Regions from separate parts of the Homo sapiens genome. Here region 1 is linked to region 2. Evidence: promoter capture Hi-C in human tissues and cell types (Jung and others, 2019). All regions are on one chromosome and are shown on one strand. The core of a region is centred on a gene start or on the middle of the fragment in contact, and the rest is flanking DNA. Distances in the headings are between cores, read along the strand shown. Region 1 has its middle 78 kb from the start of TRHR. Region 2 holds the start of TMEM74 (transmembrane protein 74).

What was found. Contacts are between HindIII fragments. The study calls those that stand out against the background at their distance.
Region 1: a fragment that was not itself captured here is called in contact with the fragment with the promoter of TMEM74 in region 2 in 2 of the 25 tissues and cell types used here (mesendoderm cells and small bowel).

The regions. Positions count from the first base shown.
Region 1 is chr8:109,160,826-109,168,005 of GRCh38, forward strand. No RefSeq gene overlaps it. Among named protein-coding and RNA genes, the nearest start is that of TRHR, 78 kb to the left of the region's middle. The HindIII fragment of the contact is 4,524 bases long and covers 1,896-6,419 here.
Region 2 is chr8:108,784,889-108,791,679 of GRCh38, forward strand. It overlaps TMEM74 (transmembrane protein 74), which reads right to left and starts at 2,706. Exons shown (of 2, transcript NM_153015.3): 1 at 2,588-2,706; 2 at 1-249. The coding sequence starts at 210. RefSeq lists silencers at 1,932-2,226, 2,642-2,821. The HindIII fragment of the contact is 13,104 bases long and covers 1-6,791 here.

The DNA.
Region 1 (7,180 bases), core at 2,908-5,407, 380 kb after region 2:
CCTAATTATTTTAATAACAAGAATCTTACTATTTAATATTGAATTCAAACAGACGGGAAATTTAATTTTTAAAATTCTATCTATCTGGTGACAAAAACTAAGGAAAGGGAGTGGATTTTTTAAAAGACAAAAGGAAAATGTAAATCACAAATAGGTAAAAATGGAAAATAAGAGAAACGGAAGAGTGAGAAAATGACAAAAAAAAAAAAGACAGAAGGATCATGAAACAGAAAAATGTAAGTCAGTGGAAATGTGCTTGGGAATAAATAATATATCTCCAAAAAGGTCAAATACATATATTATGCCTCATATTTGATGAGAATATAAAAATCTAATTATTATGACAAGGTTTGTACAAGAAACTCATGAATCTTTTTCTTTCTGCTATGCTAAAATTACTAAAGTCAATATAAACTTTGTTCAAACAAGTTTCCATACTGAATAAACAAATGACTTTAGTTTAAAGGAACAGATATACCAATTCATATATGTTTTTGAGTCTTTTGTATGTCTCAGGCACACTGCCAGGCATCAGGCATACAATGGTAAACAATTACATATAATCATCATTTTCACGGAGTTCACAGCATTGAAGAGGCTACAGGCAACAATGGACCAAGAAGTTATAATACACTGGCAATCACTTGGGTGGAAGAAACTCAAAACTACAGAAATATTGGTAGGGATACCAGTCCAGATTTAGAGGGTCAGAAGTGCTTACATTAGGAAACTGGGAAGAAAAGGATTAACAGCAGGTTTATAATCTGTTTCTTCCTCCAGGAGAAGGAAGAGATTGCCAAGAATCAACCTCTAGGAAGAGATGCCACAGTCAAACCCTTTGTAATCACACTAATGATAGAGCTGATAGTATTTTCTAGGGGGAGAGTCCTTTCTATGAGATGTCCTAACTGTGGTCTATCTAGGTTGCTTATTATAACTAAAGCTGGAATTTATGAGTTTATGAAACATAGCTCACTAGGAAATGTCATGTAAACTGTCAAATAAAAGAGATATTCCATTACTGAAATGACTCCCTTTATGTAAGTAATATCACTGAAGCTTCATTTAGGTCCTCATGTGTTCTAATACACATCCTAGTATGGGAAGAACAGAACTGGGTGACTTTGTTGACATGCTCAGACTTCTCCATGTTTCACTTGAGTGTTGTGATTTCCCATATGCCCAGAATTTGACAATTCAACCTTCCATGTTATCTCAGAAATGACCAGCTATGACTTGAGAAGTAAGTAGAAGTTAGCCAGATAAAATCATAGAAAGGAGTGGGGACGGAGATGGGCAAAGAGTGAAAGAAAACTGAGTTTATAGCAGAGTAAACATCTGTGAAGGAGCACATTTAGGAAAGGTGAACAAGGTTTAGCTAGAGCAAAGAGTGAAAGCTGCAGCAAGCAGAAGCCAACTAGCAGAAGGCCTGTGGGCCATGGAAGGGGTTTGTAATTCATTCCCAAGCAATGCGACCCAATTGAAGTGGTTTAAAAACATAAATTATAGGATATGGCTTGATTTTAGGAAGAGTACTCCATCTATAGTTTAGAGAATGCATTAGAGAAAGGCAAGAAGTCAAGATAGGAAGCTATTAAAAGAATAATATTGTATCTAGACTAAGTACTGCAATTGAAAGATGAATATTTTCATTCCAAAGAGTTTATCTAACATAAATGCATACAATGTATGCCAAAGGAAATGGACAAGAGTTATTTTAGAAGTATTATTTACAATAGCCAAAAACTGGAAACAACCTAAATATTCATCAACAATAAAATGGATAAATACATTGTGGAAAATCATACAATGCAATATACAGCAATGAAAATGAACAAACTGCTGCTACACAACAACAATAGGAATGCTTCTCACAAATGTAATATTGAGCTAAACAGGTCAAACACAATGCATCCTCTATGATTTTATTTACATACAATTCAAAAGCAGGTAAAATTAATCCATAGTATTAGAAACTGGGGCTGGGCGCAGTGGCTCACACCTGTAATCCCAGCACTTTGGGAGGCCAAGACGGGCAGATCATGTGGTCAGGAGATCGAGACCATCCTGGCTAACAGGGTGAAACCCCACCTCTACTAAAAATACAAAAAATTAGCCAGGCGTGGTGGCGGGCACCTGTAGTTCCAGCTACTCAGGAGGCTGAGGTAGGAGAATGGCATGAACCGGGGAGGTGGAGCTTGCAGTGAGCCGAGATTGCACCACTGCACTCCAGCCTGGGCGAAAGAGAGAGACTCTCTCTCAAAAATAAAAAATAAGAAAAAAAAAAAAAAAGAAATTGGACCAGTGGTCCTTTTGAAGGTTGAGTGGTATCTGAGGAAGGAGTGGGGCTAAGGGATTCCTAGGGCACTGGTAAAATTCTGTTTCTTGATGTGGGTGATGGTATCACTAGTATTCACTTTGCAGTAAGCCAATAAGCTGTATGCTTATTATTTTTTTTTTGCACACCTCTGTGTATATTTCAATATCAAAGTTAGTTAAAACAAAAGCAAAACAAAAACATAGACCATTAAGCTAAGATTTATTGTTCTAGAAGAGAGAATATAAAGAATCCAGTAAGAAAAGAGTGTCAAATTTTGGGATTTTTGTTCCAAAATGTCTTGAAAGTAGTGACTTTCCAGTGCAAGAACCAGGCATTTGAAAGACATAATAGTTTTATGCTACTTGGTTTTTCTGTGGGAAGTTTCTGGTGGACTTAGGGGGAATTCAAAAAGCTTGGCTTTATTGATTAAAGGCAAAGATTGGAAAACTCAAAACATACAGCAGAGAAGAATGAGTGATGGCACAAGAATATCTTTCTTAACACCCAGATAGGTGGTTAAAACCCATTATGGGCTATGGAGAAAGAGGACAAGAACTTAAAAAGAAAAGCAAAAGAGAGATATGAATGTGGAGCACCTGAGAAAACTTCTGCCACACTTTCCTACTCTATTTTAATCCCAGGTGGCAGATCAGTTTAGAGGGATCCTAGGGTGGAGAGGATATAGCCTTTCTTTCCAAAGTTTAGCCCAAAGAGAATGCATATCTCTAAGAGAAGCCTTGCATTCAAACAACACCAGAGAGTGGATGAGCAATGGGTGTGGACCTGATACGTTCCCTCCAAGTCTCCTTCAGATCTAAAGCTACATGGGAGACCTCGCTCAGGTCTCCAAGAGAGGCAGAGAAATTAACAGTAGGCCAAAAGAAAGCTCATGCCTGAGGTAAGGCTAATACATACCATGGTATCCAGCTAACTAAAGGCTGTGGTAGAAATGACACTGTCAGCAGATGCAGCAGTACGAGATGCGAAGCCTCAGGACCTGCTAGCACAAGGCACCCATCAGTACAGACAAGCAAGGTCAGAAGATGATCTTGGATCTTCATGTCACCCACTTCATGATGTTACATAGGGCAGAATCTCCCCTAATTCCAGACACCTCTCAAGGAGATAAGGGGAAGAAAGGGGAGGAGGGAGGCTACAGAGCCTGAGCTCTAAACTGGCAGTGACTGAGTTTCCTTAGCTTAGCAAAATGATGTTTTTCACCACCAAGCAGAAATGAGGAATAAAGTTTCGTGTTTGCACCTGAGTCTGTGACTATAAACAGTTTAACTGCTACACATAAAAAAGATTTACAAGCAGTTTGGAGGCTCAATTGTTATTTCCATCACATCCGAAAAGATGCTCTTTCCAGGGCATGGAGAAAGAATTGAAGGAAAAAAGTGTTTGAGATGGATAAAGCAGTATTAATTACCCAACCTCACAGGATAACTGTAAGGATTAAGGAACATGATAAAAGCAGCTGTCACCAAGTCAGAATCAGTAGATACTAATCCCTTCTCTCATGGAATGAAAGGGTTGAAAGAGACCTCCAGGGGCCTTCTGCTGCAACCACCTTGTCCTTATGAAGGAAAATTAAAAACATCTAAGGCAAATTGTTGTCTTACCTAGTTTTACAGATTTCAGGCATGAACATCCTACGATCCATGCTAGTATTTATCACATGCATAGTTAACAGTATTTCCAATTCATTCCCAGCAATGTAAGCCATTTCTTCTCATTAAAACCTATGCGAAAAGAGAATAATTCACTAAATCTTTTTATATAATTTTTATTTTCCTGGAAAATAGTCATAAAATCATGATTTCATTTTCTTTTCATGTAAGGTAAATAATTTTAACTCATTTAACCTTTCCTCACTGTCATGTTTTTTAGGATGTCATTGTTTTTGAGACTTAGCACTAAAAACTTCTTTTGAAATGTGATGATCAAAACAGAGTAAGATGCTTTATTGACTAGGGAAATTACTACTCAATTTTAGCATTAGTTTTTGAAACAACATTCAAACATTGCTAATTGTAAGAAAGTTGATATTTTTAAGAGATAACTATGATTGGATCTGTCCTGAATGTCATATTTTTTAACAAGAGAGAAAATTGAGACAGGTAATGTTAATCAATTTTAAATTTATAGAATATGAATTAAAGGAAGGCAAAAATATACAGATTTATATATTTTGATAACTATTTTCCAGTAAAAGAAAAAGTATATAAAAATATTTAGCAAATTACTCTCTCTTTTAACATGAGTTTTAATGAGAAGAAATGGCTTAAACTGCTGGGATGAAATTGGGAAATATTGTTAACTACACATGTGATAAATGCTAGCATGGATTGTAGGATGTCCATGACTGAAATCTATAAAATTAAGTAAGACAACAATTTGCCCTAAGTGTTTTTAATTTTCCTTCATAAGGACAAGTAACTTACTCACATGCAAACTGCTAGTTAGGTAGAGCTGAGATTCTAATGCCATTTACTCTCACCCACTCCCCATCCCTGGACTAAGCCACCATTGCCTCTGACATTGTCCACTGTGGTATCCTCATAACTGCTCTAACCTACATACATTTATGCCTTCCTTTAATCCATTCTCTATACTTCAGCTAGAGATCTTTTCAAAAAGATGCCATCAATGCCTTGGTTAAAACCGTTCTATGATTTTTCAGTGCCCTAAGGATACACATGAAAATGCTTTGACATGCAGACAAGGTCCTGCATGGTCTGCCTCAAGCAGGCCTCAGCAGCCTGGCCTACCATGGACCCTCACTCTTTCTCCTCTCAAACTGTACTGGCCTTCTTCCATACTCTCAGTCTCATCAGGCTAGTATTTATATTAGACTAAACATGAGCTTATACTGATATCTCCAACTCTAATCCATTACCACATGAATCATTCTCCTCTTGTTTATCTATATCCCCCCATTCCAGTAGTGAGAAACCCACCATTTACATCCATTTGCTTTGTTTTTCAATTCTGATATACACATATAGTGATATCAAATTGTTACCTCATACTCCTGTGGGAAACAACTTTATCAGTTAGAGTACAGTGCTTATGTGCAGTTCTTTTTGCCTTTAGTCTTATAGATTCCACTCATTTCCAGTTAGGTTGGTGCTCTTTTCCCCAGTACCTTCAATGCAGTGGTTGTTTCACACATTTGTAATACAGTTAGATTCTGAATTCCATCCTGGGATCTGCTGACGTTTTAAATAATTTCTTTAAAATTTGCATATGTCAAGAATTATCAACATCATCATTTATATGTTCTTACCAGTTTGATTTCTGCTCCAGCTAAGCATATCTCTGCTATAACTCCCTAAATTTACCTTTCTTTCCAGATTGAAATATGGTACCCTGTGAACTCAGTTCTCTGATGGGTCCAAGAAAAGTCATTAATGTTCAGTTTGTTCAAATTTTTTCTTGTTTTAAAGACAGAAATGAAGATTTCCAAGATCTGTACATGTTGAAACTAAAAACACTGTATTCACTTTTTAATGTCCATCTTTCTCCTTAAATTCTATGTTCTGTGAGAATAAGATTATGTCAGTTTTGCTCACCATTGTATTCAATTACCTAGTTTGGGTTCAGGCATATAGTAAATACTCAATAAATATTGGTTAAATGAATGGAAAAATGAATAACTCAAGTCCAAATACAAGTCCAGTAAACTTTCATCTATGTCACATGTGCTTCCCTGGTCCTATGCCATTAGACAGTCTTTTTTATTAATTCATGTTGGTTACTTCATAGTGTCCCTTTCAGTCATACTTATAACTTCTCTATTAGTGACAATCTAAGTCTTCATTCCATGCCTTGTTAGTGAAGAAAATGTCACAACCTCTTTCTAGATCCTATTTTTATCATCATCATCGCCAAGAATTTTTTTCAGGCAATAACTATCTACTGGACTTACTGGGAACACTGGTGCTTTAACCTCATAATGATTTTAAATAAATAATATAAAACTAAGTTTTCCTCTACGCTGTATAGTTTGCCTCTCTCAATATGCCTCTGCTATTTCCTGATGTCCAAACTTCCTGACATAACAAGCTTTCTTTGAATGAGGAAATAAGCCAACCTTCAGGACTCTGCAGTTTGAGCAACTAATCAAAGCTTTAAACTATACAGATGCTGAGAGCAAAACATGTCTTCATGTGTGGTAGAATAATTATCTTGATTTGTTTGCCACCAATCAGTTGATATTTAAAACTCTATTTGTAAAGCCTATAAATACAAGAGCTATGAAGAGATTACTGAGCAAGGCAGGGAAACCAAAGATCTCTATAATTTTTCTTTTCTTCTAAATAGATTATTTACACATACATAAAGAAGTATGTTACTCAAACACTCTCTTAACTTTAATACACACTCCCTACCAAAGCTGGGTGTATTAACTTTTCTCAAGTAAACTATATAACCCTCTAAAGAGACTCATATGTTTCTTCTAGGAGTATATATTGATATAACCATTCTGGAGATTATGTATCCAAAGATTTCAATTTTAACACAGAAATACCTTTTCTAGAAAAAAACTTCCAAGGAAATAACTAACAGGGTATTAAAAGATCTAGCTATGTAGGTATTAATCACATATTTGTTTATAGTTATGAAAAAATTGAAAACAACTTATTCAACTGTACTAGATTGATTAAATTGTGATTCAATCATACAATGGAACATTCTACAGCCATTAAAAATTATGTTGTAGATGTACATTTATCAACATAGAAAGATGTTCTTAATGTGTGGTAGAGTTAAAATTAAATTACAAAACAGTTTACACTGTATAATTTCAAATATAGATGGATTTATTGACACAATAAAGGACAGATAAAAAGATGA
Region 2 (6,791 bases), core at 1,456-3,955:
AGAGGAGGAGGGGGATGCTGGAGAAGAACTAAGTTTAGACCCTTCCATCTCGGTTGCTCTTGGGGTGGATGCACACTGTTTCTGACAGCAGAGAGCAGCTCTTGTGGCTGCTGTATCTGCCTGGTCACCAGGCAGCCCTCTTGAACTCCAGTCCCTGGCATCACAGAGGTCTGCCTGGTTGCTCTTCTTAGCAAGGTAGTGGAGCTCCATGAGAGCTAGTCAGACATCCCCCAGCAGCTTCCGGAAAGTCTGCCAATAGCAACAGAGTTAGATAAGAACCCAACAGAAGCTAAGGTTGTACTTCCAGGAGTGTTGCTCCTGGGGTCCCCATTTCCTTCACAGCTGCACCTGTTTAGCCCCTTTTCCACCTCAAACAGGCAAAAGAAGGGAGGGGATACCTAGTGGCAGGAAAGTGTGGAAGGGACAAATGCTCTCACTTGTCATAGTGATTAACACTGAGAAACTTAAGTCAGGGTAGAAAGGTGCGTGGAGGAAGTGGCAGTGTCTACTGAGAAAGAATACTGCCGTCACCAAGCCAAATTTATTCAAGGACTCGCGCATTCCTGCAAAAGGATCCCTCAAACGAGAAGGCAAGTTTCCTGTAAAAAGACAAATGAGAAAGGCAAGAGCCCTTTTTAGCAGAGCTGCCGATTTTCTGGAGGACTTGGGGAAGCATAGACTTGTTAATTCAGTAAGATTGTAAGTGTTTACACTCTCCCTAGTTCAGAGCAAATTCTAATACAGATTAGCTTTGGAGCATCACCATCAGTGAATGACTATACACCCCTATCAGCTGGGCAGGAACTCAGCATTTTGATTCCATAGCTCTGAAGTAGATGAAAAAGGCCAGCTTAATCAGCCACCTCTGCTAAGCTTACACCTCATACATCCAATGACCCTAGTGACACAGCCCTGTATTTACAAGACCATATGCTGCTTATTCACTGTGCTTCCACTTAGCCCTATTCCCTCACTGCTCCATGGGGGAAGCATGTTCTGGACCCCAAAGCATACAGGCAACAGACCTTACGGCAATCCCTGCAAAATACAATGGGCCAACCCACTCCTCCACACACACACCTGCCTGCTCCAGCTGCAGGATCTGCTACTCCCGTTCCCTGGGTCTGTGTTCCTCCCTCTCTGCATGCTTTGCTATCACACAATGCACAAGAAATTGACCATCTGGATAGTTTTACAAACCCAATCTAGAAGTGAACTGATAATAAAAGACAAACTATAAACCCACAGAGTAAGAGTTCTGTGGAGACAAATAGGTGAGAAGCTATTTCCAAGGTTACCTCTGTAATTTTATAAACATGTCACTCCTCACCCCCGACTGCAGCAAGGGGCATTTCTGGGAGAGAACTTTGGTTTGAGCAGAAAACCATCGGCTTTTCTCTGCCTCTGCCATGTTTCTAAGGAATAAAAATTCACTTTCCACTATCATTAGAGATTTTAACCAAAGGCTCCTTTTATTTTGCTTCCAAATCCAGGGTGATAATTGATTTAACCCAACGGCTTGAGGCTTCTTATAATTCAAAATCCACAGCTCCAAAGCTGGTAACAGAAACACAGGCAAGGGTCACCTAAGGTCAACCTGGCAACTCAAAATATGGGAGAGGGAATTGACATGTTTTCTGCTACACCTAAGAGTTTGTTTAAAACAAAACAAAAAAAGCAAAACAGAAAACGTTTTTCTCCTGTTATCGGAGTTTCTCTACAGTGAAAACAGCAAAAAACAACAGGGCAAAAGAATCACTACTAAACTAGAACAAACCCCCACTAAAGGATCCCTCAATGAATGAAGTGATGGTAACAGGCTTCATCAATTACCGATAACTCTTCTTCCAGTTTTCTCAGGCATTAGGGGCTCTGATTAACCTTTGGTACCATTAACTCATCACACTAGCCTACCTTGGATAAAATCAGCAGGGTTCTTTGAGACTTTCAGTTTATAACAAAAGAAGAGAGAAATCCCCACTTAATTCCCTACGGCCGCCTCTACCTCTCTTTAAAGAAAAGCTACTCCCGCTTGTTCGCTTGTTCTACCGGAGGTATGCTAGCAGCACAGTCGATTTCCTTTGCAGCTCCCTAATCCGGGGTTTCCATTCTCAGTGGAGAATGGATAATCCCAGGGGACCAGCTAAAGACTCTTTTCTTCCGTCCTCTCCCTCTTTTTCCTCTGATCTGCTTAAAAGCCCAGTTAACGACATTGCACCTTAAAGCGAGGGGACACGCACTTTCCCTCGTCCATCTGTCATCAATTAAAAGCATTAATATTTGCTTTAAACTGACACAGGCAAGGCTGATCTCGGGGAGGCGACCTCTGGATGCGCCCTGTGCGAGCAAAGCCGGGAGAGCGAGCCCCAAGCACCTGGCAGCGGTGCCCCCAGCAGGCGCCGAGGAATCCGGCTATCCATTTCTGGTGAACTCTGCGCCCACTGAGGCATTCGAGGTACGGATGTGTCCGCCTAGTACTCGGAGACGAAGGAGAGAGAGCGGGGATATGCGCTCCAGCTCTGCTAGGCTCCAGGGCTCTCACCCTTGCATTCAAAGCCTCCACCCCATCCCACTCCCCGCCACTCACCTTCTGCTTCGGCCACCCGGTGCGGCTCCAGCACCGCGCGCTCTCCCGGCACGGTTCCCGGAGAAAGTCCCCCAATCACCAGCTACGGCACTTGTAGCCTCTGCACGCCGCTCGGCTCCGCCGGGTGGGCAGCGCCCGCCACGGCGGGCGGGGTGGGGCGGGGCGGGGCGCTCCCGGAGCATCCCGGGAGTTGTAGGCCAGGGGCGGTCCCTGCATCCCTCCTGTCTCTGTCTCCTCCCACGCCTTCTGGGTTTTACCCTTCCTGCAGATGAGTTCCCGCCATACCCTCTTACTCCTCCCCAGCACTTAAGAAGACAGCACTGTTTTCTAAGCCTAGAGTGGAGTTCCCTAGCCTCAGGTGTGGCCACAAGACTGTGAAAAGGAAAGTATATTCGACTTCAAATGTGCCAGATAATTTGCATATTTTGTCTTTTTAATAGTCAAAACAAATCTTCCAAGTAGATTTTATTAATCCTCATTTTACAGATGTGGAAACAGGCTCAGAGAGGGTAAGTGCCTCATCCACAGTTACCAACAGCAGCTTCTGAAATTGCATCCAGGAGTCAGATTCGAAAGTCATTGCGTGTCTCACAAAATCAGAAGAAATATGACCATAAGGGGTAAGAGATTGTCCGATGTACCAACACATCCCCTGTATTTAGCACAGTGGTATTCGTTGAATGTATGAATAATAATGACTCAAAATAACAGTTAACATAAATAGCGCTTATTATTGCCAGGCTCTCTTCTAAGCACTATAGATACATTATCTCATTTAATGGTCACAATTTATTGTTAAAGTACTGTAAAAAAAAATCCTCATTTTAACAGAAGGCAAAACTGAGTTACAAAGTAGAATAATTTGCCCAATGTCACACAACTAATACTTAGCAGAGGTGGGGGGGGGGGGATGAACACCAACAGATTCTAAGCGTTATGCTATATGGAATGAATGGAAGAAAGACCAGAAGGCCAGAATAAAAGGGCTCAGGAATAAAGGAAATCTGAAGGTTGAATCTTCTGAGTTGTGACTCTTAGGATAGGACAAGGTAACTGTGTCACCAGCCTCTTTCAACCAGAGTGGACTGCAATAGCCAACAGCCACTGAAAGCCCAGGGTATGTGTAGCTTGCAGATAATCTCCAGTTTTCCAGCATCCTGTTGGGACAATTCTAGGGGAGCAAAAAAGGATTATAGTATGGATGGGCTGGGCACGATGGCTCACGCCAGTAATGCCAGCAATTTGGGAGGCCGAGGCGGGCAGATCACGAGGTCAGAAAATCGAGACCATCCTGGCCAACATGGTGAAACCCCGTCTCTACTAAAATAGAAAAAATTAGCCGGGCGTGGTGGCGCGTGCCTGTACTCCCAGCTACTCAGGAGGCTGAGGCAGGGGAATCGCTTGAAGCCGGAGGCGGAGGTTGCAGTGAGCAGAGATCGTGCCACTGCACCACTCCAGCCTGGCGACAAAGCAAGACTCCGTCTCAAAAAAAAAAAAAAGAAAAAAAGAAAAAAGGGATTAGGGATTATAGTATGTATTATGACATTGTGCTTGTAGCTCACATAAATACTGTGGTTGCTTGCTTTCAAAAGAGAGATCTATCTCCTTTAATGACAATTATGTTGGTATTTCATTACATTGGATAGAATCTATAGTCACATGATTACAGGAGTTCACAATGCTCCCTCTTTAAAATTCTTTTTCCCCCATATGATTATATTTGTAGCCAGTGAGGCCCATTTGTTGATAAACATGACAGATGTATTATGACTTCTCCTTTGCTTACTACACGGTTCTCCAGCATGAATATCTTTCCTCCACTGCCCTATTCCATCCACACTTCAAGGACTAGTTTGTCAAGCCAAATCTACAGGGATGCATCCAGTTCTTAGTACTACATATGCAAAAAGAAATAAAGAGAGAAACTAAGATGTAGAAGGAACTTGAATTTATGTTGACGAGGAAAAACTTAGGAACTTAGGCTATTTAGCCATAGGAGAATACTGAGAGGAAACAATAAACTAGCTTCAAATATTCTGAAGTTTCTAAAAATAGAAGAAGAATTCTATAGTATATTTAAAAGGGTAAAAGCAGAACAAATAACAATAATACTTTTTTGTTAGTGCTATTATGTTATCATCTTTAATTTTTACACCAACTTCACAAGGGAGGCAGTATTATTGCACCCATTTTGCAATGTAGAAATTGAGGCTTGAAAAGATGTAGTTTCTTTTCCAAGGCCTGAAAACTAATATCGGGCAGAGCTAAGGTTCTAACTTGGGTCTGTGTGATTCCAGAGACTTGATCTCTTTGCCAACACATTATACTGAGCAATGCTTCACAATCTTTTTTACAGCAGAGTACACATAAGAGGTGATACTATTTATGGCAATGTGATAAACACAGGAGGTTTCTCATGGCCATAGTTCTGGGGCTGTGGGTACTTCAGTCTCTGCAGGACAGCTTGGAGGGCTAAGGAAATAAATAAGTCAGCACACCTGTGACACACTGGAGTGCTGGAGGATGCCAAAGCACTGATCTGAGAAGCTCTGGATAGCACTATTAAATTTAAGAAGGAGGCTGATTTGAGACTTTGTATAAGGAAGGACATTATTTCTAAAACTTTTAAATTGATGTCTCATGAAAGCAAATTCTCTGGTACTGGTGAGGATTAAAAAAAAAAAGGAGAGCCATTTATTAGTGATTTCATAGAAGGGATTCATCTAGTTGGATTAGAGGACCTCTGTGATTCCCAGGCTGAACTGATTTTAAGTTACTTTTTTTTTTTCCCTGAAGCCTTTTTCTTCCAAGGATTACACCTCCTGTGAACTTTGCTGGGACTTGTCAGTACTGGTGTTTTTGATATTTATCATCCACTGCTTTACGACATTTCTGGAATGGCTAGGTAGCCACTGCATGTGGTTTAACTTCTCACTTAGGTGCCTAAATCTCTAAGGTAATCAATCATAAACTCCTTAAGGTCAGCATCTACATGCTGAACACCTTACCTCCTGCAGAAAGTGCAGTATTTCTGTTGAGAGGGAAGATGTCAAGACTGAACTGAAGACTCGAGATGATTACCTATAATAATACTTGACTGTCTACATATTCTTGAGCATTAAAAATATATCAATTCCAACCAACACCACAAAATCCCCTTTAAAAGTCTGCTGACAAAAAATAGAGATGAACCAATTGAGCACTTGAAAATAAAAGCTCTGCAAAAATTGCCACTTGCTGGAATACTTTCCCCCTCTCTCATAAGTCTATGTCTAAAACTTTCCTGAAAATTGACCCAAGAACCTTTTTCAAAAGCCTTTCTTGTTCAACGTCCTCAACTTATCGTTACCTTTCTAACTGGCTTTCTAGTAGCATAATATGCTTTCTTTTATGCTGTTATTTTAGATATAGAAAAGTATTTCATGTATATTTTATAGTGCTTTCTATGTGATCTCTCCAGATAAAATTTAAGCTCCTTGAGAACCAACATATTCTTTCTATTTCTTTGAAGCTATATGTGGGCATGAAATAGTGCGACACATAGGCAACAGTAGTTCCTCAATATATGCTGATAAAACAATTCACAGTTGTAAAATGTTATCTAGAAATCTACATAATGATTTTGGTCTTACTCTAATTTTAATGTCTCACATTTTCCTGTTTACTTATACTCCGTTTCATGTGAGAGGAGCAATCGTTACTACACTAAGTTAACTAGTTGAAAAATAAGAAAAATTCTGAGAAGTAAATTTACCATGTAAATCAAGGGTAGTGCTGGGACTTTTAACAACCAGCCTCTTGTAATAATTACTGAGGATGTGTTCCAGTTTCTTTTTCTTCAGTAATAATAATAAGGGCTGATTAGTGGACTATTAAGGGATTATTAGTGGAGTTATTATTATGAGAGGCTGGGTCCTAGAGAAGTAAGAAAGACATTTTTGGAATAGGCTGGAGGGAGGATCAGTCATTGAATAGGGATAGCATGAGGAATATGGTCCTATACCCCATACTGGTGCTAAGAATGAAGGTGACCATAATTTAGAGAATGAAGATCTTGTTAATGAACAAGATTCTAGGAACAAAAAAAAGCATTAAATTAGAAAGGTTTCCATTTAATAAGAATGCTTACAGTGGCCAAGTAGGCATGTTACTTAAATAAAGTGGCTGAATACAGACAATAGGGATGGGGAAGATTACCGAAGTT